Regions from separate parts of the Homo sapiens genome. Here all the other regions are linked to region 5. Evidence: promoter capture Hi-C in human tissues and cell types (Jung and others, 2019). All regions are on one chromosome and are shown on one strand. The core of a region is centred on a gene start or on the middle of the fragment in contact, and the rest is flanking DNA. Distances in the headings are between cores, read along the strand shown.

The links. Contacts are between HindIII fragments. The study calls those that stand out against the background at their distance.
Region 1: a contact is called between a fragment that was not itself captured here and the fragment with the promoter of CHADL in region 5, in 1 of the 25 tissues and cell types used here (lymphoblastoid cells).
Region 2: the fragment with the promoter of POLR3H here is called in contact with the fragment with the promoter of CHADL in region 5 in 2 of the 25 tissues and cell types used here (dorsolateral prefrontal cortex and mesenchymal stem cells).
Region 3: a contact is called between a fragment that was not itself captured here and the fragment with the promoter of CHADL in region 5, in 1 of the 25 tissues and cell types used here (lymphoblastoid cells).
Region 4: a fragment that was not itself captured here is called in contact with the fragment with the promoter of CHADL in region 5 in 2 of the 25 tissues and cell types used here (lymphoblastoid cells and spleen).
Region 6: a fragment that was not itself captured here is called in contact with the fragment with the promoter of CHADL in region 5 in 2 of the 25 tissues and cell types used here (lymphoblastoid cells and spleen).

What each region holds. Positions count from the first base shown.
Region 1 is chr22:40,777,819-40,782,277 of GRCh38, forward strand. It overlaps SLC25A17 (solute carrier family 25 member 17), which reads right to left. Exons shown (of 9, transcript NM_006358.4): 5 at 1,191-1,307. Among named protein-coding and RNA genes, the nearest start is that of MIR4766, 34 kb to the right of the region's middle. RefSeq lists an enhancer at 4,247-4,459. The HindIII fragment of the contact is 3,211 bases long and covers 1,306-4,459 here.
Region 2 is chr22:41,542,419-41,547,279 of GRCh38, forward strand. It overlaps POLR3H (RNA polymerase III subunit H), which reads right to left and starts at 2,052. Exons shown (of 6, transcript NM_001018050.4): 1 at 1,573-2,052. The coding sequence starts at 1,683. RefSeq lists enhancers at 1,413-2,250, 1,573-1,672, 1,683-1,772 and silencers at 1,823-1,952, 2,143-2,242. The HindIII fragment of the contact is 26,348 bases long and covers 1-4,861 here.
Region 3 is chr22:40,867,551-40,872,121 of GRCh38, forward strand. XPNPEP3 (X-prolyl aminopeptidase 3) reads left to right here. Exons shown (of 10, transcript NM_022098.4): 2 at 1,449-1,565. Among named protein-coding and RNA genes, the nearest start is that of DNAJB7, 7.7 kb to the left of the region's middle. The HindIII fragment of the contact is 4,117 bases long and covers 439-4,555 here.
Region 4 is chr22:40,885,744-40,890,487 of GRCh38, forward strand. It overlaps XPNPEP3 (X-prolyl aminopeptidase 3), which reads left to right. Exons shown (of 10, transcript NM_022098.4): 4 at 570-772. Among named protein-coding and RNA genes, the nearest start is that of DNAJB7, 26 kb to the left of the region's middle. The HindIII fragment of the contact is 5,151 bases long and covers 280-4,744 here.
Region 5 is chr22:41,238,885-41,243,604 of GRCh38, forward strand. CHADL (chondroadherin like) reads right to left here and starts at 2,047. Exons shown (of 6, transcript NM_138481.2): 1 at 1,990-2,047; 2 at 559-736; 3 at 1. The coding sequence starts at 1,997. RefSeq lists enhancers at 1-200, 1,650-2,150, 2,151-2,651. The HindIII fragment of the contact is 27,215 bases long and covers 1-4,720 here.
Region 6 is chr22:40,979,752-40,984,313 of GRCh38, forward strand. No RefSeq gene overlaps it. Among named protein-coding and RNA genes, the nearest start is that of RBX1, 31 kb to the left of the region's middle. The HindIII fragment of the contact is 3,762 bases long and covers 1-3,536 here.

The DNA.
Region 1 (4,459 bases), core at 1,661-4,160, 460 kb before region 5:
TAGTTTGGGGTCAAGTTTATCGGTTAATTACTTTTTGATAATCAGACATTGACAGTCACCAAGTTATTGAGAGACCAACTTCAATCACAGGCAACTGTTCCTGATGATCGAATCCTCCTAAGTCATTATCACCATCACTGGGAATTCTGGATTACACAGAACTGTGAACTGAGCCCACATATTTCACAAAAAAGTCCAGCACAAGAAAAGATAAGATCGTTTCCTAGAATTTATTATACAGGATTTGACTTTTAAAAACCACTATTTCACTACAAAGATTGATGTATGGGAAAGGAGAACCTGGCAATGTGGTACTATTGAAAGGCAGAAGCTCAAAGATATCAGATACCAATCTGGTGTCTATCCAAAGACAACACTAGAATAAAAAAGTATAGATCATTCTTCAAAAATATTCATCCCCTCCCATTGATACTCTTTGGGAGCAGCATACTTCTCTACCCCTTGTCTTGGGCTTGGCTATGTGATGTGCTTTGGCCACTGGGATGTCAGCAGACAAGGTGCCAACAGGGTTGAAAGGTGTTTATACCATTGGGTGTGTCCTCTTGACCTTTTGCCATCACAATGAGAATATGCTCATGCTGGTCCCAGAAAGAGGAGAGCCATGTGAACTGAGACTGTCAGGCTACGGTCAGCCTAGATGAGCCAAATCCACGTCAATCCACAAACATGTGTTAAAAAGAAATGCTATTGATGGATGCCGAGATTTGAGGTTGTCTGTTATGCAGCTTTTATTTTTTTTTAATTATACTTTAAGTTCTAGGGGACATGTGCACAACGTGCAGGTTTGTTACATATGTATATATGTGCCATGTCGGTTTGCTGCACCCATTAACTCATCATTTACATTAGGTAAAAGCAATGGCAACAAAAGCCAAAATAGACAAATGGGATCTAATTAAACTAAAGAGCTGTTGCACAGCAAAAGAAACTACCGTCAGAGTGAACAGGCAACGTACAGAATGGGAGATAATTTTTACAATCTACCCATCTGACAAAGGGCTAATATCCAGAATCAACAAAGAACTTAAACAAATTTACAAGAAAAAAAATCAAACAAACCCATCAAAAAGTGGGCAAAGGATATGTTATGTAGCTTTATGTGGCAACATATTCCAGATACAAAGAAGGAAGAAAACCCTTAAATAGGAATTCAGCAAAGAGATACTTACCAATGATACCTTTGTAGTTTGTTGGTACAATGTCTTCATTCCTAAATTTTGCTCCTTGAAGCTTCAGTCTGGTGTTTACCACCCAGAGTGGAGTTGTTAGCAACACATTAACCACTCCTTTAACAAGAAAGATGGAGAGAAAAAGGGAAGGCAAAATGTCAGCTTTTAAGCTTTGCTGCTTTAAAGCTACATACCAATATTCCATTTATATCTCTGTCACTGACCTCTTAGGAGACCTAAGGTAAGGTGTCTCTTTGTGCCAGGGTACAACACAAGCCACTACTGTTAGAAGCGATTTGGAAGCTTTGCTGATAGCAAAATGGCTGGCGGCAGCAGCTCTCCAGATGAAGAGCAATAAGTTCCCTCATTTGTACAACAGGCAATCTATTTGTCAATTTATATACCATTCAAAGTAGCAATTTTGATATAGCTTTAAATATAATTTTAACGTAACAGCTTTAGAGATGAGAGTGGCTTACAGCTAACATGCTAAGTCCATGACAATATCAGATAAAACACACAATTTACAACTCTTACTTAAGTAGCTCACACGGTTTGAAGTGAGTATGGATATGGTACAATGAGTGACAGGAGGGGGAAAGGTGGTGACATTTAAAAGTGCCTTAACAGAGACTAGAAGCTCGCTGAAGAGTTCCTCCTTGCTGAGAGCATTAGGATAGGCAGGCAGCAAGCATCAGGTAAGTGTCACAAAACACCTGAAACAGCTTCACAAGCATCATGATCCTTACAAGCTTAAGGATGGGGATCTTGGCCCCCCAAGGTTGCCTCAGAGTAGAACAATACAATGAGCCAGGTGCTTCTTTTTTGAAAACATATGATCCCAATTTAACACCATCTTGAGATATTAAAATATTCCTCACCAGTCCTGAAATGATTAAAAAAAAATACCAGATAGAATTGTAACAATGTGCCTGACACATGGTATATACTTTATAAACATTTGTTAAATAAATAGTGGAACAAATGAAGCAATGAACAAACTCAGTAAAAAAGCACACATCCAACTGTCTGGCTCTAGTCAAGATCTGAAGAACCAAGAGAAAAAATCCTAAGGAAGAGAAGTCTTTTACTAAAATCCATTTAAAGATAATTGAAGAAATAAAGTTTTGATTTAAGGTATCTCAAAATATTATATATAGGAAATACAGTCTAACCAAGGATAAACTTGACAAAACAGCCAAGAGATTCAAATTCAATTTTTTCATTAGTTGCATACAGTTGTTAAAGATATTTTGCTGCCTATCTCTAAGGAGCATTATAAGAGCACATTTCTCAAAATAAAAGGCATCACCTAATAATTTTATCAGTCGTATTTGTTATATTTTTATAGATTCACATAACATTAAGGAGTCATCTTTAGTTATAACTTAAAAGGCTCATACATTGTCACTGGAGGCATTGCCTATAATCTAAAAAACCCTTAGTTACAGATTCTTCCTAGTCTCATTTTTTCAAAAGCACCCATGCCCCAGAGGCCAGTATAGAGGGATATTAACACATTCCTGTTTGCCTAGATTTTAGAATGTATTCCTATTCAATGCAATGCACACTTCACTTAACAGAGAAAAACCAACAGCCAGAAAAATCAGACTAGAAAGTGCTATTGAGCAGTCTACTGCATTTGTTTTAAGAGAAAAGGAGGACAGGAGAGCTCAGGACCAGAGATCACAAGCTTCCACAGATACCGTAGAAAGGTATAGTGCACCCACCTTTCTAAACAAGTGAAATATGTTGCCTGTTAAATAAATTCTTCAGAAATAAAAATTTTCTTCATTTAAGAGGTAGGCACATACAAAAACACTTAGGAGGCAATGCAGCTAAGATTAAGATCTAACCATTCTTTAAAATTCTGCTTTCATGCCCAGTGTGGTGGCTCATGCCTGTAATCTTAGCACTTTGAGAGGCTGATATGGGAGGATCACTTGAGCCTAGGAGTTCAATAGCAGCCTGGGCAAAAGAGGGAGACTCCATCTCTAAAAAAAATATTAAAAATTAGCCAGGCAGGGTGGCACACTCCTGTGGTTCCAGCTACTCAAGAGGCTGAAGTGGGAAGATCGCTTCAGCCCAGGAGGTTGAGGCTGCAGTGAGCTGTGATCATGCCACTGCACTCCAGAGCTGGGCAACAGAGTGAGACCTTTTCTTATTAAAAAAAGAAAAAAGAAAAAAAAATCTGCTTTCATATCCCCATTATTAACACAAGCAGAAAGACTAAAAGGATTCTTTTTTTTTTTTTTGAGACGGAGTCTCGCTCTTTCGCCCAGGCCGGAGTGCAGTGGTTCTATCTCGGCTCACTGCAAGCTCCGCCTCCCCGGCTCACACCATTCTCCTGCCTCAGCCTCCCGAGTAGCCAGGACTACAGGCGCCCGCCACTGCGCCCGACTAATTTTTTGTATTTTTAGTAGAGACGGGGTTTCACCGTGTTAGCCAGGATGGTCTCGATCTCCTGACCTCGTGATCCGCCCGCCTCGGCCTCTCAAAGTGCTGGGATTACAGGTGTGAGCCACCGCACCCGGCCTAAAAGGATTCTTCTCAAGGACAACCTCAAGTACAAAAATGTACCACATTACTTAAATAACAGATTATAAAGTCCTTGTAAGAACATTTGGTATTTCAAAGCTTTTTATCTGAGAAGTTCAAGTACTTTTTTTCACTCTCTAAGCCAAAATAGATGGAGGAGTATTTTTTAACCAGTATAATTTTATGAGTTCTGAGAGAAGCTACTCAAAATACTTGAGAATCCGAAGCTTTACTAAAACTTGCAACCTATATCATCAAGCAAAGGTCAGCATTCCACTGAGAGAAGCATGCCACAAACCATTCGTGAGTACCAATTCCAACTCCTGACAGGCCCAAAGGATAAAGAAAATTGTCTGCTTTTTTGTAAGCCCGTGTAACTCTTCTGCCAGTTCCGGCCGGGTGCGGTTGCTCACGCCTGGAATCCCAGCACTTTGGGAGGCTGAGGCGGGTGGATCACAAGGTCAGGAGTTAGAGACCAGCCTGGCCAACACGGCGAAACCCTGTTTCTACTAAGAATACAAAAATTAGCCAGGCACGGTGGCGGGCGCCTGTAGTCCCAGCTACTCAGGAGGCTGAGGAAGGAGAATCGCTTGAACCCAGAAGGTGGAGGTTGCAGTGAGCCGAGATCGCACTACTGCACTCCAGCCCGGGTGTCAGAGCGAGACCCCATCTCAAAACAACAACAACAACAACAACAACAACAACTCTTCCGCCAGTTCCAAGCTGTGGAT
Region 2 (4,861 bases), core at 802-3,301, 300 kb after region 5:
GTTCCTGCCTTCAGGGCTCTTCTCTCCACCCAGCCCCCTCCCACCCTAGAAAGGAATCCTCTGGTTGGCTCCACTTCACCATCAGATCTCACCTTCAACCCCACCTCCTCAACAAAGCTGCAGGTCCCCTCATTCCAGGGGACGTTCCTTTGTTCCACAGGTGTGTGAACACCTGTCCCTCATAACATTTACCTCAATTTGTCACCAAACACTCAACTGTGGACCCTTCTCATTCATATCTGCTTTCCCACCACACTATAGCACAGAGCCTTGTCTCTGTTTCATTCATTCAGTCAACAAATGGCCGGGCACGGTGGCTCACACCTGTAATTCCAGCACTTTGGGAGGCTGAGGCAGGCAGATCACCTGAGGTCAGAAGTTTGAGACCAGCCTGGCCAACATGGTGAAACCCCGTCTCTACTAAAAGTACAAAAATTAGCCAGGTGTGGTGGCAGGTGCCTGTAATCCCAGCTACTCAGGAGGCTGAAGCAGAAGAATAGCTTGAACCTGGGAGGTGGAGGTTGCAGTGAGCCAAGATCGCTTCATTGCACCCCAGCCTGGGCGACAAGAGCGGCACTCTTGTCTCACACACACAAACACAAAACAGAAAATTATGGGACATCTACTCCCGCCAGGCTTTGGCTAAATGAGGGGATACTTCAGGGAAGAAGGCAGATAAGGTCCCTGCTCTCAAGGAGAGGGAAAGGAAAAAGTCTAAGAAGGAAAGAGAGTGATGTGACACAGAATACCTGGAAAGGGAGGACTGTCAAAGAAACGGCAGTGGGAAGACCTCTCAGCTGGTACTAAGGCACACAGGCACAGCACAGAGAAGGCGCACAAATATTGGCTGCTGGAATGAAGGGATGAACCTCCTGACAGTTAATTCTGTACTACTAGAACTCTCCATCTTCACGAAAACAATGCATTGACCCGAGGCGATGGCGCACACCTGTAATCCCAGCACTTTGGGAGGCCGAGGCGGGGGGATCAAGAGATCGAGACCATCCTGGCCAAAATGGTGAAACCCCGTCTCTACGAAAAATACAAAAATTAGCTGGGGGTGGTGGCGCGCGCCTGTAGTTGTCCCAGCTACTCGGGAGGCTGGGGCAGGAGAATCGCTTGAACCCGGGAGGCGGAGGTTGCAGTGAGCCGAGATCGCGCCACTGCACTCCAGCCTGGACGAAAGAGCAAGACTCCGTCTCAAAAACAAAAAACAAAACAAAACAAAACAAACAACAACAACAACAAAAACAATGCATGGCTGGAAGGACAGCAATATTTTATCCCCATTTTAAAAATGGAAACTGAGGCCCAGAAGGGGTCAGTAACTTGCCTGCAATTGCAAAGTAATTTAGAATTGTGGAATCTAACACTTCCAGTTACAACTCCCTTTTTCAAGCCCATTTTCTTTTGATCCCCTTCAATATCTCCTTTCACGGTGAAGAAAAGTTCTGAGACATTAAGCTGCTTGCCCACGGCCAGGGCTTGGCATGACCGAGGCCGGGCCTGCGGCCAGTGGGCGGCGCTCGCTCTCCCACGCCAAGGCCTGCCCGCGAGCCGTGGGCCCAGTACCTTGTTGGCCAACTTCTTGTTCAGCTCCTCGGCAATGGAGTCGTTGAGCTTCCTCTCAAACTGCCAAGGGGGGATCCGGACGGTGTCCACCATTTCCACCAGGACGAACATCCCGGCCTGCGCTGGGGGCTCTGGGAACAGGAGGGTCAGTCACGCACCAGGGCCGGGGGCAGGGAGAATCCCCGAGCCCCTTGGTCCCGTCCCAGTCGCTGAGGCCCCCAGGCTGGCGGTGAGGTTGCACGGGGCGGTCTCGGGGGCCCGGTCCGGGCCATGCTCCGCTACTACAACATGAGGAAACTGAGGCCAGAGGGAGGCACTCTCCGTCCACAGCTCCGGGTGCGCGCCCGCGCCGCGAGACCCCGCCACGCCACGCCACTCCACGCCACGCCACTCCACGCCCCGCACCCGCGCCACGTGCCGCCGCTCGTATCACGCACCACGCACCACGCACCGCGCACAGCCGCTCGCGCTTGCGCGACTGCGGGCGAGATTCCGAATCCATCGCTTCCGGAAAACTCACCAATAAGAAACCTCTGTCCACCCCCACCCCGCCGAGGCGGGGCGGGGCTGCCTGTGTGCTCGCGCACAGCGTGGGGCAGAGAGAGGGCGAGGAGAGGGCGGGGCCTCCTCCTTTCACAGGAGCAGAGCGGTTCCCCCGCCCCCGACAGCGCTTTCTGTTGCTAGGCGACCTCCGTGCAATCCCGCCTGATTATCCCTCGCCTGGCCTGTGCTTTACCCGCATTGCTGTCCTCTGCTCGGCAGCCAGAGTGATCCTTTGGAAACGCAAACATATATTACCACATCTAAGTTAAAAAAAAAACCCACCGCAAACATAACATGCTTAGCACCCTTAAGTGTTCCGGAGACAAGGAGAATTAGCAGGAAAGGGGCACTTGGGACTGTTCTGAGATGATGGAAATGTTCTGTATTTTGTTTTCGGTGGTATAACATTGACGTATATAATTGTCCAAACTAATTGAACTCGGCAAGATTTTTGCATTTATTTGTAGACATTATGTTCCAATTGAAAAGTTATAATAAATTGGAACAAAAAACACAACCCATTGAACTTAGAATACTAGATCCAAGCCGGGCGTGGTGGTGTACACCCGTAGTCCCACCTACTCAGAAGCCTGAGACAGCAGCATCGCTTGAGTCCAGGAGTTTGAGGTTGCAGTTTGAGGTTGCATGCTGCACTCTAGCATGGGTGACAGTGACACCTCATGTCTAAACGAAAAAGAAGAAGAAGGAGAGGCGGAAGAAGAAGAAAGAAGAAGGAGAAGAAGAAGAAGAAAGAAGAAAGAAAAGGGAAAGAAGAAAGAAAAGAAGAAAGAAAGAAGAAAAGTCCAAAACCTTTATGGTAGTTCACACGGCCCTGCAAGATCTGACCATACCCCCCTCCTATAGCCCCATCATGCTCTGTCTCGCTGACATTCCAGTCTCATTCATCTTCACGTGATAGCATGGGCTAAGAGAATTTGGTAGCTTACCCAAGATCACGTGTTGACAAGTGGTAGAGGTGGGCCCAGTCTGAACCTCACTACCCTGCCTCTAAAAATTGGTGGGGTGTAGATGTATACTGTAGTGGGTTTTTTTGTTTGTTTGTTTGTTTGAGACGGAGGATCGCTCTGTCGCCCAGGCTGGAGTGCAGTGGCGCGATCTTGGCTCACTGCAAGCTCCGCCTCTCGGGTTCACGCCATTCTCCTGCCTTAGCCTCCCGAGTAGCTGAGACTACAGGCGCCCACCATCACGCCTGGCTAATTTTTCGTATTTTTTTTTAGTAGAGACGAGGTTTCACCGTGTTAGCCAGGATGGTCTCGATCTCCTGACCTCATGATCTGCCCACCTCAGCCTTCCAAAGTGCTGGGATTACAGGTGTGAGCCACCGCGCCCGGGCTTGTAGTGTGTTTTAACCAAAATAACAATTTAGGTACTTACAAAAGATACTTGGGGTAAATGACAGAGGCACTTGGAAATGTATGGTGCCTTAATTTGCTGATTTCACAAGCATAGTGATCTCTCAGTGACACTGGCTGCAGTGATGCTAAATGTGGCCTTCCCTGCATCTATGATTTTATTTTTAGGTGTGCTTCTATAGGATTTGAGGTACTTGAGGACAGCAGCAAATGCTACTTCAGCTCTTTATTCCCACAATCCCCTAACACATTCCTAGGAAGCATTGAGTAAAGGTGTTTAGGGATTACCATTAATTCTTCCTCTCAAATGTTTCCTCTTCATTCCACTCCCACTGCTATTGCTTCGGTTCAGGCCTTTTCTTTTTTTTTTCTTTTGAGACGGAATCTTGCTCTGTCGCCCAGACTGGAGTGCAGTGGCATGATCTCAGCTCAATGCAACCTCCACCTCCTGGGTTCAAGCGATTCTCCTGCCTCAGCTTCCCAAATAGCTGGAATTACAGGTGCCCACCACCACACTTAGCTAACTTTTGTATTTTTAGATAAGATTTCACCATGTTGGCCAGGCTGGTTTCGAACTCCTGACCTCAGGTGATCCCCCCCATCTTGGCCTCTCAAAGTGCTGAGATTACAGGCATGAGCCACCGTGACTAGCCAATATCTGGTCATTTAAAAGTATGTGGCGGGGCCAGGCGTGGTGGTTCACACCTGTAATCCCATCACTTTGGGAGGCCGAGGTGGGTGGATCACAAGGTCAGGAGATTGAGACTATCCTGGCTAACACGGTGAAACTCTGTCTCTACTAAAAATACAAAAAAAAAAAAAAAAAAAAAAAAGTAGCCGGGCGTGGTGGCACGCGCCTGTGGTCCCAGCTACTTGGGAGGCTGAGGCAGAAGAATCACTTGAACCCGGGAGGCAGAGGTTGCAGTGAGCTGAGATCACACCACTGCACTCCAGCCTGGCGACAAAGTGAGACTCCGTCTCAAAAAAAAAAAGTGTGTGGTGGCCAGGCGTGTGGCTCATGCCTGTAATCCCAGCACTTTGGGAGGCCAAGGTGGGCGGATCACCTGAGGTCAGGAGTTCAAGACCAGCCTGACCAACATGGAGAAACCCCGTCTCTACTAAATACAAAATTAGCCGGGCGTGGTGGCGCATGCCTGTAATCCCAGCTACTCAGGAAGGCTGAGGCAGAAGAATCGCTTGAACCCAGGAGGTGGCGGTTCTGGTGAGCAGAGATCGCGCTATTGTACTCCAGCTTCGGCAACAAGAGCAAAACTCCATCTTGAAAAAAAAAGTGTGTAGCACCTCCCTCCTCCCACTCTCTCTCTTGCTCCTCTTTTCCCCATGTGATGTGCCTGCTCCTCCTTTGATTTCCG
Region 3 (4,571 bases), core at 1,247-3,746, 370 kb before region 5:
TTGGTGTGGGTTTCCAACCTGGGCAACATAGTGAGACCTCATCTCTACCAAAAATAAAAAAAATTAACCAGTCTTGGTGGCACATACCTGTAGTCCCAGCTACTTGGGAGGCTGAGCCACTGACTCCAGCCTGGGCAACAGAGTGAGACTCTGTCTTAAAAATAAATAAATGAATAAATATTGAAGGAGAGAAGGAAGGAAATATTAGTTTGCATTTTTCTAAAGCATCCAAACTGTTGGAGATGGATAAGTGCATTTATACCATGAAGACTTTCTAGATCTATTGTTTCATTTCATTTATTGCCTAAGCCCAGAGGAACAAAGCTGCAGTGAGCTATGATCATGCCACTACACTCCAGCCTGGGCGACAGAGTGAGACCTGTCTCAAAAAAAAAAAAAAAAAACCCAACAAACAAAACTCCTTATGTGTGAATCCACTGTTGCATTCACCATTTAATATTGTAATGCTCTATTTTGTCTCACCTCCACTAGACTGTGCATTCTTTAAAGACCACAGCATATAGCCTTGTCATTCATGTGTCTTTCTTTGAGCATGTTCCAATCATGTGCAAAGAATTTTTTAATTAATGCTAATAACTAACATTTGTTGTACTCTATGATTAAGCATTTTTCATAAATTATTTTATCTAGCTCTGACATTCCAAGATTAAATGAGATAGCATGTGCATATTTTCTCATGCTTAACATATTCTCAATAAAAAATGTTGATTATCTTTTCCTGAGTTTTAGGACACAGCTTTATGCTATCTCTGTGATACCCTTTCAAACTGCCTCTGTGATATCCTTCCCCTGCCTTTTTTGGTTCCTTTCTTCTGTTTTCATAGCTCCTTATTCATACCTTTATTATATATGTGTGCGTGTGTGTGTGTGTGTGTGTGTGTGTATGTGTATAAAATATTATAGCAGACAAATGTCTCTGAGGGTAAAGATCTCATTTCTGTTTTCCTAAGGCCCAACACAGAGTCTGACACAGAGCAAAGGCCATATAAATATTGAAGGAGGGCCAGGTGCAGTGGCTCATGCCTGTAATCCCAACACTTTGGGAGGCCGAGGTGGGCGGATCACTTGAGGTCAAGAGTTCGAGACCAGCCTGGCCAACAGGATTAAACCCCGTCTCTACAAAAATTAGCCAGACATGGTGGCACGCACCTGTAATCCCAGCTATGTAGGAGGCTTGAGGCAGGAGAATCACTTGAACCCAGGAGGTGGAGGTTGCAGTGAGCCGAGATCATGCCACTGACTCCAGCCTGGGTGACAGAGTGAGACTCTGTCTTAAAAAAAAAATAAATGAATATTGAAGGAGAGAAGGAAGGAAATATTAGTTTGCATTTTTCTAAAGCATCTAAACTGCTAGAGATAAGTGTATTTATACCATGAAGACTTTCTAGATCTATTGTTTCATTTCATTCTCTTTATTCTTCATTCAGGATGTATGTTGTGTTCACAGCGAAGGTACTCCCTTCAGCCTGTCCCAGAAAGGAGGATTCCAAACCGATACTTAGGCCAGCCCAGCCCCTTTACACACCCACACCTCCTCAGACCAGGTAAGGCCTTTTAACTGTGCTATCTCCCCATTTAGGTTCTGTCTAGAGCAATGCTATGCAATAGAACTTCTTGCAGTAAGCTCTGGATCTGTGCTGTTCCATAAGGTAGCCACTAACCTCACATGGCCATTTTACACTAATAAGGTTGCTAGTACAGCTGAGGAGCTGAACTTTTTATTTTATTTAATTTTAATTAATTTAAATTTAAGCTTAACTACATGTGGGTACTGGTGCTTTATTGACAATACTAGTCTAGAACAAGGTTTAAATATGATAGACCTTATAATTCAGAATAATTAATGAAAGGTATGTATTTCAGGATGTTTTTAAAGCAAAGTTCTATTTCTAAGTCAGCTTTTAGAATTGTATACTATTGTGAATTACTGTGTTAAAGACATTTTAGAAAACATGTTTTTTCTTGAAATTATCAAATATTTACTTTAAAATTATAACCTATTTCTATATAGATTAAGCAAGATTTCCAGATTTGTTTGTCACAGATTTGAGAGGTAGTATCCCAGTTGATAAAGGTGATGCAAAAAAATGATAAAGGTTTGTTTTACTAATTTTTTTTTCTGCTATAAGATCCCAGCGTTGCTGCCAGAAGATGTCTTATAACTATTGCTCAAATTTAGACCTAAAGGTTTTTTGTTTTGATTTCTTGCACTTAAGGGGTGAACTATGACTAATGAATATCTCAGAGAGGAAGGTAGGGTAAAAGCAAACACATTGTAGAAAAAGCAATCAGGTTTTCAAGGAAAATTAATTGTTCTTTCTGCCATAAGAAATTAAATATGTATTTGCCATATAAGCATATATATTACTAATGGAAATTTACCTTTAGAAATATGTTCCTTTTTCACTATCCCCACTCAGTGAATGATACCAGTATGTTTCTCAGTGAGGGCTTCCTTTTGCTGATTTTTCATCAGACTCGAATTCCTGCTGGGAAGTCGGCTGAAACTAAGGAAATGCAGCTCACCACTGAAACCCACAAGAAATCAGAGTTTTTCAAAGCTGTAAGGTAAGCTTAATAGCAACCCAGTTGGTATTAATTTTAGTATTTATCTACCCTATCAACCTACCTGTAGACTCGAGTTATTTTTTTAAGTAGAATTGATAGTTTTACCAGCTTTGAAAATTACTGATTTCTTGTGGTGAGATATTTTTACATGGTAAGCTGCATTTTCCAGGCCTTAAACCTAGTAATTATATTGTCAAGATAATGGCCTCTGTATCTAGATTTTTTTGCTCTATACCTTAAGTGCATGTTAAGTATAAGTGAATGTAAATAAATATGTACACGTATATGTTCACATACATATGTATGTGAATATCTGGGGGAAAAGGGATGCCTGTCCTAATTTTACTCTCCTAGACGTGGGATTTTGGACATTGGGGTAAGTGAGAAGGGATGGAAGTAGATGGAATTTTAAAACAGAATTATTAGTATTTTAAACCTCAAACTATCAGATGTACCATTAGGTACAGATTTTTCTGCAGACAAAAGTATCAAAAGAATTAATCATTTGTGTTTCTCCTTCCAGAGATGCAAAACTTGTGGAAGTGTTAAAGTGATTGTAGGGTGAAGCAGAGTAAATTTTTAAGAAAAATTAAAAGGGGCCGGGCGCAGTGGCTCATACATGTAATCCCAGAACTTTGGGAGGCCAAGGTGGGTGGATCACCTGAGGCCAGGAGTTTGAGACCAGCCTAACCAATATGGTGAAATCCTGTCTCTACTAAAAATACCCCCCAAAAAAAAAATTAGCCGGGTGTGGTGGCATATGCCTATAATCTCAGCTACTGGGGAGGCTGAGGCAGGAGAATCACCTGAATCTGGGAGGCGGAGGTTGCAGTGAGCCAGAATTGTGCCACTGCACTCCAGCTTGGGGGACAGAGGGAGACTCTGTCTCAAAAAAAAAGGAAAAAAAATTTAAAGGCATGTAATACTTAAAAAGTCTCTTAGGCCAGGTACAGTGGCTCACGCCTATAATCCCAACACTTTGGAAAGACAAGATGAGAGGATCACTTGAGGTTAGGAGTTCGAGACGAGCATAGGCAACATAGCAAGACCCTGTCTCTATAAGAAATAAAAAAAATTAGTGCTCCTGCCTATAGTCTCAGCTACTCGGGGGACTCAGGTGGGAGGATTGCATGAGCCCAGGAGGTCAAGGATGCAGTGAGCTGTGATCATGCCTCTGCACTCCATCTTGGGTGACAGAATGAGACCGTGTCTCTCTCTCTCAAAAAAAGTCTCTTACGCAGTTGGCTTGTTAGTTTAGGATATAAAATTATGTAATGTGCACTTGGTTTCTCCAAAAGGTTTCATGTTTTGCATATTTCTCTAATACATGGCAGTATGTACTTAATACTTTTGGGAAACATCTCAATGCCTTTCCTAATTATTACGCAAGTTCTATACATACAGAAAAAGAGAATACAGGTAAGCATAGATTTTTTTTTTAATTACTAATAATCCCACAACTCAGAGAAAGCCACTGTTGAGAGGATTTTGGTATATGTTTCTTTTTAGTCCTATTTCTTACATAGGTGTATGTGTGTATAAGTGTACATGTGTACACATTCTTTGCATATTGCTCTATTATTTCCTTAAATTCTTAGAAGTGAAATTACTGGGGCCAGGCGCGGTGGCTCACACCTGTAATCCCAGCACTTTGGGAGGCTGAGGTGGATGGATCACGAGGTCAGGAGTTCGAGACCAGCCTGGCCAACATAGTGAAATCCCGTCTCTACTAAAAATAGAAAAATTAGCTGGGCATGGTGGCGCATGCCTGTAGTCCCAGCTATTCAGGAGGCTGAGGCAGGAGAATCACTTGAACCTGGGAGGCAGAGGTTGCAGTGAGCTGAGATCACGCCATTGCACTCCAGCTTGGGCAACAGAGTGAGACTTTGTCTCAAAAACAAAAACAAAAGTGAAATTACTGGGCCAGTTCCTCTGAATTCTTGGGAGCTATTTTTCCTAGATTTTTCTTTGCCATACCTACC
Region 4 (4,744 bases), core at 1,605-4,104, 350 kb before region 5:
GGAGACTGAGGCGGGTGGATCACAAGTCAGGAGTTCGAGACCAGCCTGACCAATATGGTGAAACCTCATCTCTACTGAAAATACAAAAATTAGCTGGGCATGGTGGCGGGCACCTGTAGTCCCAGCTACTTGGGAGGCTGAGGCAGAAGAATCGTTTGAACCTGGGAGGCGGAGGTTGCAGTGAGCTGAGATTGTGCCACTGCACTCCAGCCTGGGCAACAGAGCAAGACTCCATCTCAAAAATAAAGAGAGAGAGAAAGAGAGAAAATCAAAGCTTGACTAAAGCTTTAGTCCCGTATCATCCTTTATAAAGAACACTGAAGTTTAGGGGCAGAAAAGCTGTATATTCAGTCTTAGAATATCTTGCCATTTCCAGGGAATGACCTTTCTAATGATTTATAATCAAACCTTTATTGCTTCAGTCCTGAGAGAGTCTTAAGTCTCAACACTTTAGAGTTCCACGTTACAGGTTTTATAGTTTTGACTCTTGTTCAAGTCGTTATGACAGTTGATATTTCTTGTTGCTGGTAGTTTTGTTTTAAATTTATTTTTCGGCTTCTCATTCTAAGCTGAGACGAACATGGTTTGGTATGACTGGATGAGGCCCTCACATGCACAGCTTCACTCTGACTATATGCAGCCCCTGACTGAGGCCAAAGCCAAGAGCAAGAACAAGGTTCGGGGTGTTCAGCAGCTGATACAGCGCCTCCGGCTGATCAAGTCTCCTGCAGAAATTGAACGAATGCAGATTGCTGGGAAGCTGACATCACAGGTATGATTCCTATTGAAAAGTTTTTTCCAGCCGGGCGCGGTGGCTCACGCCTGTAATCCAAGCACTTTGGGAGGCCGAGGCAGGTGGATCATGAGGTCAGGAGATCGAGACCATCCTGGCTAACATGGTGAAACCCCGTCTCTACTAAAAAAACATAAAAAATTAGCCGGGCATGGTGGCGGGCTCCTGTAGTCCCAGCTACTCGGTAGGCTGAGGCAGGAGAATGGTGTGAACCCGGGAGGCAGAGCTTGCAGTGAGCCGAGATCGGGCCACTGCACTCCAGCCTGGGCGACAGAGCGAGACTCCATCTCAAAAAAAAAAAAAAAAACAAGAAAAAAAGAAAAAGTTTTTTCCAGATTGGAAAAATCGTAAGCTCTTGAGGTCGTATACCCAATGCAGCAGTCTCCTCACCGCAGAATGGCATCTAGCTTCTGCTCCAGTGTGTAGTGAACATACCTAGAGACTTGCTTAATACCTTGCAAGACAAAGTAAATCTGCCTTCTGTTAAGATGGTTCTTTTACCCATCAATCTTAATTATTTCTCCTTAGAACGACAGAAATTAATACTGTTTCTTTTCCTTATAGTTACACTAATAGTGTCAGTTAAACAGTTTGGTTCTAAGAAAGACTCAGGACCCAAAGTGACAATGCTTACAGATCTGCAGTTTATTATAGGAAAAGGGTAAAAAATAACCATAATATGAAAGTAAGGATATATATCACAGCCAATGGCTGTCTCAAAGCAAGGAGTCTAGAGAAGCCAGGTGCAGGCTTCTCTGGTCCTCCCTAGGTGAGGGCCAGGCAGGATGTATCTTTCTCTTACAGATTAGGAATCACCAGTGTTGTCATACTCTGCTCAGGCTGCCATTACAAAATATCACAGTCTGCATGGCTTAAACAAGAGAAATGTATTGTCTCATAATTTTGCAGTCTGGAAGTCCGAGATCAAGGTGCCATCATGGTCCATTTCTGGTGAGGGCTCTCCCGGCTTACAGAAGGCGGCTTTCTTGCTGTGTCCTTACATGACAGTGAAAGAGGGCCTTTTTACAAGGCCATGGTCCTATCAAATTAGAGCCCCACCCTTAATTACCTAATTTAACCTTAACTACCTCCTAAAGACATAGAGATTAGAGCTTTAACACATTAATTCTGCGGGAAACACAATTCAGTCCATGGCACATGCAACAGACTACCTCAGAATCAGAGACTCCAAAATGGAATCTCAGCTAGGGATTTTTGTTTTTTTGGTCACATAATCATATTCCTGCTACGTAACAGTAAAGCCCCCCGAGAGTTTTCACAGAGACCAAGTGTAAACCATAAATCTCACTGGCAAACTGATAGAAACTATCCCAAAACTCCCTATTTCATTTATTCTCTCCAAGGTGTTGGCCATTGACTTAATTTAAAAAAATCTTTTTACTGTGGTGAAATGTGCATAACATAAAATATATCATTTTAACCGTTTTTAAGTATGCAAATCAATGACATTAAGTACATTCACATTGTTGTGCCCACTTTTTCCCGACTTTCTCCATCATTCCAAATAGAAACTGTACAGATAAATAATAACTTCCCATTCTCCCCTCCTCCAGCCCCCAGTAACCTCTACTTTCTCTGTGAATCTACCTATTCTAGCTACTTCATATAAATGGAATCATACAACATTTGGCTTTTTGTGACTGGCTTATCTCACTTAGCATAATGTTTTTAAATTTCTTCCATTAGAATTTCACTTTTGTTTTTTAGATAGAGTCTCGCTCTGTTGCCCAGACTAGAGTGCAGTAGCATGATCACAGCTCACTGCAGTCTCGACCTCCTGGGTTCAAGTGATCCTCCCACCTTAGCCTCCCAAGTAGCTGGGACCATTGGTGCATGCCACTATGCCTGCTAATTTTTTAAATTTTTTGTAGAGACAGGGTTTCTCAGTGTTGTCCAGGCTAGTCTCGAACTCCTGAGCTCAAGCAGTCCGCCCACCTTGACCTCCCAAAGTGCTGGGATTACAGGTATGAGCTGCCATGCCCAGCTTCATTCTTTTTAAAGACTGAATAATATTCCATTGTATGCGTATGCCATATTTTATTTGTCTATTCATCCATTGATAAACATTTGGTTTCTATCTTTTTTTTTTTTTTACTATTGTGAATAATGTTGCTGTAAACATAAGTGTACAAATATCTTGTGTTCAAGTCTCTTTTAATTCCATTTGGTATATACACACAACTGGAGTTGCTAGATCAAATGGTAATTTTATGTTTAATATTTTGAGGACCACCATACTGTTATCCATAGTGGCTGCACCGTTTCACATTCCCACTAGCAACGCACCAAGGGTTTCAATTTCTCCACTCTACACCAACATTTGTTCTGTTTTTGTGGCAATAGCCAATCCTAATGTGTGTGAAGTGGTATCTTACTGTGGTTTGGATTTGTATTTCCCTAATGATTAGTGGTGTTGGGCATCTTTTTATGTGCTTCCTGCCTTCCTAATGGTTTTTTTTTTGTTTTGTTTTGTTTTGTTTTGTTTTTTCTTTTTGAGACAGTGTCTCGCTATTGCTCAGGTTGGAGTGCATGGTGAGATCATAGCTTACTGCAACCTTGAATTCCTGGACTTAGGGGATACTCTTGCCTCAGCCTCCTGAGTAGCTTGGATTACAGGCACATACCACCATGGCTGTTTTTAGGTTTTTGTAGAGATGGGGTGTCACTATATTATCCAGGCTGGTGTTGAACTCCTGGCCTCAAGAGATCTTCCATCCTCAGCCTCCCAAAACACTAAGATCACAGGCATGAGCCAACATGTCCAGCATCCTCTTAACACTTTCAGTCAGTATGTTTCCTGCCACACCTTGACCAAGGAAGGAACTTTAGCAAAATAGCTCTGGCTAATTCTAAACCTGGAATTAGCACAACAGTTCACTCTACCCCCATAACCAACATTAACTCTATTTTTTGATAAAACAGTAATCCTGAGTTGACAACAGTTACTTCACTTCTCAATATCATATAGATAATCAAAATACATAGACAAGCAGGGCATAGTGGCTCACCCCTATAATCTCAGCACTGAGGCCAAGGTGGGAGGATCACGTGAGGCAGCGAGGAGTTAGAGACCAGCCTGGCAACATGGCAAGACCTCACCTCTACAAAAAAAGATATTTTAATTAGCCAGGCATTGTGGCATATGCCTGTAGTCCTAGCTACTCTGGAGGCTGAGGCAGAAGGATCACTTGAGCCCAAAAGTTTAAGGTTACAGTGAAGTATTATCACATCACTGCACTCCAGCCTTGGTGACAGAGCAAACACTGTCTCTAAAAAAATGCATACACAGAATCCAAACATTTACAATGATCAGTGAAGGGTTGGTACTGATTTAAACAGACAGCTGAATTATCCAATTACACTTTCTTGTGTTTTTGTACGAACTGTACAGTCCTTTGGCCTCCTTGATCCACAGTTTTCTGCACTTCATGGTATATATCTGCTGAGTTATTAAAAATAATAATCTATCATTAATCAAGTCTAAATATTCATCAAGCCAATTCTCCTCCATAGGGATAACATCCCAACAGGACTTTAATTCAGTCTCTCAATGTATTTGATCATCATCATCAGTATTATACTAAATTTTATAAGCTCCTAAAATATTAATTTTACCTGACCCCTATATTACATCATATAGCAGTACCATTGAAGTGAGAAGTCAGACAAAATTTAGCTGCTAAAGGCTTACATTAAAATAAAAATTAAGGCCAGGTGTGGTGGCTCACACCTGTAATCCCAGCACTTTGGGAGGCTGAGGCAGGAGAATCACTTAAGCTTAGGAGTTCAAGACTAGCCTGGGCAACATGGAGAGACCCCCCCATCTCTACAAAAATTTTTTTAAAATAGCCAAGTGTGGTGGTCCCAACTGCTTGGGAGGCTGAGGTAGGACGATCACTTGAGCTGGGGCAGTTGAAGCTGCGATGAGAT
Region 5 (4,720 bases), core at 797-3,296:
GCTGGGGACAGCGAGGAGAAAGTGGGGCTGAGCCAGGCAGGGACCCCGCCTTTGCAAGTGCTGCTTCTTCCCCGGAACACTCTTTTCTCCTGTCACCTTTCCCATATTTCTCTTCATCCGACCCCTGACACCTCCTCCAGGAAGCCTTCCTCTCCAGTGCCCTGGGCATCACCCACTGTGGCATTTTTCACACTGTGCTGTCCCTGCCTCCTCGCTCTCTCTCCTCCACTAGCTGATGACTCTGCAGAGCAGAGACCACACCTCACCCTGCCACAGCCCGCCTCTCCACCACAGGGTCTGCAGTGAATTCAGTATCGATCTATGGGTCACCTACTTATTCCATTCACACAGTAAGGATTTTAAATAGATCATCTCCCTGTTACTGGTTTTTATTATTCCCATTTTACAGAAGTGTAAACTGAGGCTCAAAGAGAAGTAATTTGCCAAGGTCTCCCGGGCAGGCGGTGGCAGATCAACTGGTGCCCAGCCCAGGCTCCTCCCTCTGGGTCCCCACCTTGCCCCACTGCCACTCTGTGCCTGTGCTCCTGCCCTGCTGACCTCAGGGATGGCGTCTGGCACCTCAGTGAGGTTCTGGTACCGGCAGGCAACGTGTCGCCTGGAGTTGTCACAGATGCAGGCCTGTGGGCAGCGCTGGGCGGCGGCCTGCCTAGCCGGGGCCAGCAGCAGAAGTACAAGAAGCGGCAGCACCAAGGGGACATGGGTGGAGCTCCGGGGCCTGGGACGGGGAGGGAGAGTCTGTTGTGCACAAGGGCCGAGGCCACATGCTGTCCCTCACTTAGTCCCAGCCATGGTGCAGCTCCTGCCCCAAAAACCCCTCAGAGCCTCCTCCTTTGGGCCCAGGAAAGTGCCAATCACCCTGAGCCTCCCTGCCCCCCACCCCCCACGCAGTGGAGGTCCTATGATTAGTCCTGTTTTACATGGGAGGAAACCGAGGCTCAGAAAAGTGACCTGGTTAGTCCCTTTGCCTCTGCCCAATGGCTCAGTGAGGACTTGCTGACTGTGAGAATGACTCCAGTTCAGAGCATGTTCTCAGGCTGTGGTGAGGCTCTGGTCCAGGGTAGGCTCGGAAGCAGCCTGTCCTCAGACTGATATGATGCCAGCTCCCAGGTGGCAGGAGCATAATGGTACCCCCCAGAAAGGAGGGAGGCATCCAGTCCGGGTCCTTGAGTCTTTTTTTGTTTGTTTGTTTAAATAGAGACAAGCCTTGCTCTGTTGCCCAGGCTGGAGTCTGGAGTGCAGTGGAATGACTATGGCTTACTGCAGCCTTCACCTCCTGGGCTAAAGTGATCCTCTCACCTCAGCCTCTTGAGTAGCTGGGACTACAGGCACACACCACCACGCCTGGCTAATTTTTTAATTACTTCTGGTAGAGACAGGGTCTCGCTATGTTGCCCGGGCTGGTCTTGAACTCCTGGCCTCAAGTGATTGTCCCACCTTGGCCTCCCAAAGCGCTAGGATGATAGATCACCTCCCCTGCCCAGCTGGCCCCTCTGTTCTCAGCCTGTGTCAGGCATGGCCTCTCCCCCATCGCTGGGCTGTTCCCCGGCCCCCAGGAGCCTCCCCCTCGCTGCTCACTGGACTATCGTCTGTTTTGGAGTCTCCTTTGGGTCCCAGGCTCCAGCCCCTGCGTTGGAGTTGGTGGCTTCTCCAGAGCCTGTGGTGAAGGCTGTGCCTCAGGGCAGGCCAGGGAGGGGACCCATGGGGACAGATCGCTGAAGCGACAAGCATTCATAATGCAGGGACCACTGCTGGGCTCTCAGACAAGCCCCAGAGGACCAGTTCCTGGCAGTGGCCACATTGCCACGTGTCTCAGAGCCCACCTTGGGAGACCCCCTTCCTGGAGAACCCCAGGAAGTCCCCAGAGCCCCTGCCCGCCAGCCTCTGAGAGGCCCAGAGGGGGCAGAGACTTACCTGAGGCCACTGAGCTGCTCTGAATCCCCCCTTGCACCATCGGGCCCAAAGACTCACCCCTCCATGCCGCCTGGAACTGCTGGTCCAGCCTGGAGGCGCAGCGCAGGGACAGGCTGTCCCCGCCTGGCAGGAGCCCCCCTCCACGGCCCGCAGGCCTGGCAGCTGGGACAGGGCTGAATGGGAGGCATTGTCGGCAGACCAGGCAAGCCAGGCTTCCCCAGGCTGAGGTGAAGAAGGGGCGGGCGGCGGGCGGGAGCAGCGGCTGGAGTTACAGGGCCTCCTGCCTGCCCCAGCCGAGGACTGAGGCCCCGGCCTGAATCCTTGGGCCAGCCCGACAGGGAGGGGGCACCAGCAGCTGGCCCGGGAGTCAGCAGTCCTGGGCTCCCTCCTGCCATGTGGGCTGCCCTCCCAGAGGCTGCTTCCTAGTCTCTGAAAAACACATCCCATTAATAAGTAGCTCTGAGGTCACAGTGGGGGTTCAGGCCCGCACCTGGCACACAGTGGGTGCTTCAGAACAGGTGACCCTTTCCTTCCGTTTGTGCTTACACATTGACATAAATAGTTTAATACTGGACACACAGGATTCTAGACACTCATTTTTTTCACTTAACCTCAGATTACTGGGAGTTATCCAAATTGACTCTTCCGAATCTCATTATTCTGTGGTATATAGTATTCCATTGTGTAAATGTATCACATTGACTTAGCCATTCATCTTGGACATTGGCTACCTCCAATTTTTTGCTATTTACAAACAATATTGCAAAGAATATCCAAATACGCATCTTCCCAAGCTCGTGTTTGTTTTTTAAATAATACATCCAGACCATGGCCAATGTTCATGTATCTTGATTTTTCAGATTCCTGCTTCTGATGGAATTGCATCTTCTACTGTTTGTTCCTTTAATTGGAAACAGGGGTCAGGCACAGTGGCTCATGCCTGTAATCCCAGCACTTTGGGAGGCTGAGGTGGGAGGATCACTTGAGCCCAGGAGTTTGAGACCAGCCTGGGCAACACAGACTCTGTCTCAAGAGAAAAAAAAAAGGCCGGGCGCGGTGGCTCACGCCTGTAATCCCAGCACTTTGGGAGGCGGAGGCGGGTGGATCACGAGGTCGAGATCAAGACCATCCTGGCTAACACAGTGAAACCCTATCTCTACTAAAAGTACAAAAAATTAGCCGGGTGTGGTGGCAGGCGCCTGTAGTCCCAGCTACTTGGGAGGCTGAGGCAGGCAAATGGCATGAACGCGAGAGCCGAGATGGCGCCACTGCACTCTAGCCTGGGCAACAGAGTGAAACTGTCTCAAAAAAGAAAAAAAATATATACATATATATATATATATATATATATATATATATATATATATATATATATATGTATGTGTGTGTGTATACACTTATGTGTGTATATATTTATATATAATAAAAATATAAATGTATATGTTTATATATATTTATATATGTTAAACAATGAACATCTGTGTGTACTTTTCCTAGACTGCAGGAGTTTTTTGTTTTTTGAGACAGAGTCTCACTTTATCGCCCAGGCTGGAGCTCACTGCAACCTCCACCTCCCTGGTTCATGCGATTCTCCTGCCTCAGCTTCCCAAGTAGCTGGGATGACAGATGTGTACCACCACATCTGGTTAATTTTTGCATTTTTAGTAGAGACGGGGTTTCGCCATGTTGGCCAGGCCGGTCCCGAACTCCTGACCTCAAGTGATCTGCCCGCCTTGATCTCCCAAAGTGCTGGGATTACAGGCATGAGTCACCACGCCCAGCCCTGCAGTAACATTTTAAAAAAAGAAATAGTGCCATGCCACACAGCCATCTGCTTTGTGCTTTTTTTGCTTGGCAAATTCCAATCAATGGAACTTCAGTGTGCTCTTTCGTCCTTTTTTTGAGACAGGGTCTCACTGTTGCCCAGGTGTGAGTGAAGTGTGATCATGGCTCACTGCGGCCTTGACATACCAGCCTCCCAAGCAGCTGGGACCTCCAGATATGCACCGCCACCTCCAGCTGGTTTTAAAATTTGTTGTAGAGTTGGGGTCTTGCTATGTTGTCCAGGCTGGTCTTGAACTCCGGGGCACAAGTGATCCTCCCACCTCGGCCTCCCAAAGCGTTAGGATTACAGGCATGAGCCACTGCACCTGGCTGTGTCTGGCGTTTTCCACTCAATATTATGTTAGTGAGAATCATCTTTTTATTTTTTTTTTGAGACGGAGTCTAGCTCTCGTTGCCCAGGCTAGAGTACAGTGGCGTGATCTCAGCTCACTGCAACCTCCGCCTCCCAGGTTCAAGGAATTCTGCTTCAGCTTCCCGAGTAGCTGGGATTACAGGCACCCGCCACCACACCCAGCTAATTTTTGTATTTTTAGTAGAGACGGGTCTCACCATATTGGCCAGGCAGGTCACAAACTCCTGACCTCAAGTGATCCGCCCGCCTCAACCTCCCAAAGTCCTAGGATTTACAGGTGTGAGCCCGCACCCGGCTTCATCTATTTTAATTTTTTTTTTAAATTCAGCATTCCAGCCTTCCATTCTATAAATATATGACAACAGTGGCATGGGGCAGGGGCGGGAGGCAGTCTGCCCACAATGCAGGCAGTAAGCGGGTGTGCTGTCAGTGGAGAAGTGAGACACAATGGAACTGACTTAAAGTTGGTCTCTGCTTTTTATTATCATGTGCTGACAAGTCTAAACAATGTCAATGCTAAAATATTTCTTCTTGGGCAGACCATTCCTACCTTCTCGGTACCACACCGTACCACAAGTAGCTTACCCATTC
Region 6 (4,562 bases), core at 406-2,905, 260 kb before region 5:
TGGCCTTTGGAGAGAGAGAGAGCTCTGGGTGATAGCCCAGGGCTCATCTGGTTGTCCCTGCAGAAGTGTTCGCTGCTTCTCAGCACCCACAGCAGATTTTTGTTGCTGCTCCTCTTTTCTTCTAGTGCCACTGTCTAAATTTAGATTCCCCTAAAGAAGAGCCTGAGACGAGAACTTGGTAGCTTATTTTGGAGTTGATTCCAGGAAGCACAGCGCGGGAGAGGGAATGAGAGACAGGGGAGTGAGGAAAGCCACCGAGCAGGTCACCTCTGCAGGCAACTGGGCTCAGTCCCCCACCAGGCCCGCTGTGGGGACATGCAGAGCACAGCACAGCACTGCACGCCCAGGGATGGGAAGCCCGGACTCTTCTTTCTCTTCTTCTAAGACACCAGTCCTATTGGATTAGCTCCCCAACTTTTACCTCAGTTAAGCTTAATTATCTCCAAAAGACGTTATCTCCAAATACAGTCATACTAGGAGTTAGGGCTTCAACATATGAATTTGCAGGGAGGGGTACAATTCAGTCCACAGCGACATCCTTGCCAACACTTGTCATTTTACAAATTTTGATAATAGCCATCCTGGGGAATAAGAACTATTTGTGGTTTTGATGCTGTTGAGCATCTTTTCATGGCTTCTTTCTTAGCCATTTTTGGTTTTTGTTTTGTTTTGTTTTTTGAGACAGAGTCTTTTTTTTTTTTTTTTTTTTGAGTCGGAGTCTCACTCTGTCGCCAGGCTGGAGTGCAGTGGCGCGATCTCGGCCTACTGCAACCTCCGCCTCCCAGGTTCATGCCATTCTCCTGCCTCAGCGTCCCGAGTAGCTGGGACCACAGGCGCCCGCCACCACACCCAGCTAATTTTTGTATTTTTAGTAGAGACGGGGTTTCACCGTGTTGGCCAGGATGGTCCCTATCTCTTGACCTTGTGATTTGCCCACTCGGCCTCTCAAAGTGCTGGGATTATAGGCGTGAACCACCGTGCCTGACCAAGACAGAGTTTTATTCTGTTGCTCAAGCTGGAGTGCAGTGGTGAGATCTGGGCTCACTGTCACCTCTGCCTCCCAGGTTCAAGCAATTCTCCTTCCTCAGCCTCCCGAGTAGCTAGGATTACAGGCGTCCACCACCATGCCTGGCTAAATTTTGTAATTTTAGTAGAGACAGGGTTTCACCATGTTGGCCAGGCTGGCCTCGACCTCCTGACCTCAAGTGAGCTGCCCACCTCAGTCTCCCAAAGTGCTGGAATTACAGGCATGAGCCACCATGCCTGGCCCCTTTGCCATTTTTTAATTGGGTTGGTTTTTGGGGTTTTTGTTTTTTGGGGGGTTTTTTGGTGGTGGTGAGTTGTTGGAACTTTTTATATAATGTGGATATTAAATCGTTACCAGATATATTATTTGCAAAAATTTGCTTCCATTCTGTGGGTTGCCTTTTCACTCTCTTGATAGTATCCCAGCTGGACGTGGTGGCTTACACTTGTAATCCCAGCACTTTAGGAGGCCAAGACAGGAGGTTCGCTTGAGCCCAGGAGTTTGAGACCAGCCTGAGCAAGGTGGTGAAACCCCGTCTCTACAGAAAAATTCAAAAATTAGCCAGGCATGGTGCCACACGCCTGTAGACCCAGCTACTCAGGAGGCTGAGGTGGGAGGATAGCTTGCTTGAGCCTGGGAGGTGAAGGCTGCAGTGAGCCGAGATCACACCACTGCGCTCCAGCCTGGGCAATAGAGGGAAACTCTGTCTCAAACAAACAAACAAACAACAACAACAACAAAACCCATAATATCCTTTGATACACAAAAGTTTTTAACTTTGATGAATTGCAATCTATTTGTTTTTTCTTTTGGTGTCACATTTAATAAATTGTTGTCAAATCCAACATCATGAATATTTGCCCCTATATTTTCATCTAAGAGTTTTTGTGTTTTAGTTCTTAGATGTAGGTCTTTCATCCTATTTTTTTTGAGATGTAGTCTCACTCTGTCACCCTAGGCTGGAGTGCAGTGGCACGATCATGGCCACTGCAACCTCCGCCTCCCAGGTTCAAGCGATTCTCCTGCCTCAGCCTCCTGAATAGCTGGGGCTACAGGCATGTGCCACCATGCCCGGCTAATTATTGTATTTTTAGTAGAGACGGGGTTTTGTCATGTTGGTCAGGATGGTCTCGAATTCCTGACCTCCCAAATTACTGGGATTACAGGCATAAGTCACCATGCCTGGCCTACTTCCTACTTTGTTTTTGTTGTTGCTGTTGTTTTTTGTTTGTTTTGTTTTTGTTTTTGTTTTTGAGACAGAGTCTCCCTCTCTCCCCCAGGCTGGAGTGCAGTGGCGCAATTTCAGCTCACTGCAACCTCCACCTCCCGGGTTGAAGCGATTCTTCTGCCTCTGCCTCCTGAGTAGCTGGGACTGCAGGCATGTGCCACCAATCCTGGCTTTTTTTTTTTTTTTTTTTTTTTTGAGATGGAGTTTCGCTCTTGTTTCCCAGGCTGGAGCGCAATGGCACGGCCTTGGTTCAGTGCAACCTCTGCCTCCTGGGTTCAGGCGATTCTCCCGCCTCAGCCTCCTGGGTAGCTGGGATTACAGGCATGTGCCACCACACCCAGCTAATTTTGTATTTTTAGTAAAGACAGGGTTTTACCATGTTGGTCAGGCTGGTCTCGAACTCCTGACCTCAGGTGATCCGCCCATCTCGGCCTCCCGAAGTGCTGGGATTACAGGTGTGAGCCACCGCGCCTGGCCTACTTTGTTTTTTAAGATATTACCTCCCTTGCAAGTTGTCAAGAGAATGAGAGTTGAAAGTGAAGCGCCTGCCACAGAGCTGGACACATAGTAGGTGCCTAACAAACAGCAGCTCTCCATAGGAGAAGGCTGGTTCAGTCCCTTCAGGTTGAAAGGACCAGAGACTTCTCGGGTTCCCTCAAGCACACTGGTAGCACAGCAGGTTCACAGGAAATCCTCCCTGTCTGCGCAATCTGGCCTGGGAGACTGGAATGTCGCTCAGTAGGCCGCAGGCCTCCATCTGGTTGTCCCTGCAGAAGTGTCCGCTGCTTCTCAGCACCCACAGCAGATTTTTGTTGCTGCTTCTCTTTTCTTCTAGTGCCACTGTCTAAATTTAGATTCCCCTGAAGAAGAGCCTGAGACGAGAACTTGGTAGCTTATTTTGGAGTTGATTCCAGGAAGCACAGCGCGGGAGAGGGAATGAGAGACAGGGGAGTGAGGAAAGACACTGAGCAGGTCACCTCTGCGGACAACTGGGCTCAGTCCCCCGCCAGGCCCGCTGTGGGGACGTGCAGAGCACAGCACAGCACTGCACGCCCAGGGATGGGAAGCCCAGGTACTGAGCCAGGGCCTGGAGGTTTTAAATCCGTGGCCCTTCTGGGTTACCCTGCACAAAAGGCTGAGCAAGTGTTCACTGCTCCAGAAAAAAACCCCTCAGGCTGAGAAGCAGAGAGATGGGGGTACTGAAGTGAAGCTTGTGTGTGCAGGGAACCACCGCCTACACCTGCAGGTGGACTAAGAAGCCCCAAGGGGATACAGCGCAGGGGACCAACAGCTCCTGCAACCACCACGGCCTCTCCGCCGCCTTACTCCTGCGTACTCCTGCATGCTTAAAGCTTCTACTGCCTCAACTTCTACTTTTAGCTGTCATCTCTGTGGATCTCTGGGTTTCTGTGTCTCTGCTGCACAAATCTCCACGTAAGCCTTGCGTTTCATCTGTCCACAAGAAACAGGTGATTGGGCAGGACTGTTCACGCTAGCCCAGCTCACAGGGCACTGACCTCCAGAGATGGCTGCCCTTGCCACAGTCACCTGATCCTCTTCCAGTCCATGTGTCTGAAGTCCGAGGAATAGAGCATAGCAACTTGTTCATAAAAACAATTTGTGGGCCAGGAGCAGTGGCTCACGCCTGTAATCCCAGCACTTTGGGAGGCCAAGGTGGGTGGATCATTTGAGGTCAGGAGTTTGAGACCAGCCTGGCCAACATGGCGAAACCCCGTCTCTACTGAAAATACAAAAAATAGCTGGGCGTGGTGACGGGCGCCTGTAGTCCCAGGTACTCAGGAGGCTGGGGTAGGAGAATCGCTTGAACCTGGGAGATGGAAGTTGCAGTGAGCCAAGATCATGCCATTGCACTCCAGCCTGGGCGACAGAGCGAGACTCTGTCTCAAAAAGAAAAAGAAAAAGAAAAAAAATGTCTGACACCTTCTCTAGTCGGGGCTGTGGAGTGACAGCACCCAGGGTCTCCTGGATGGCTGATCTGTAGTAAGTACTGTTACCCCCTTTACAAATGAGAGTATGGGGCTCAGAGTGTTGGAGAGACTGTGCCCGGAGGCCGATTTGGACCTGAGTGCAGTCTCCTGACTCCAAATCTCATGTTCTTTCCACTGAATGACTTTACCTCTTATGCAGGGAACAAACTCTCCAAGTGTTGAGTATCATGAAATCTTCCTATTTGGAGCCGGGTGCCGTAGCTCACGCCTGTAATCCCAGCTCTTTGGGAGGCTGAGGCGGGCGGATCACCTGAGGTCGGGAGTTCGAGACCAGCCTGACCAACATGGTGAAATCCCA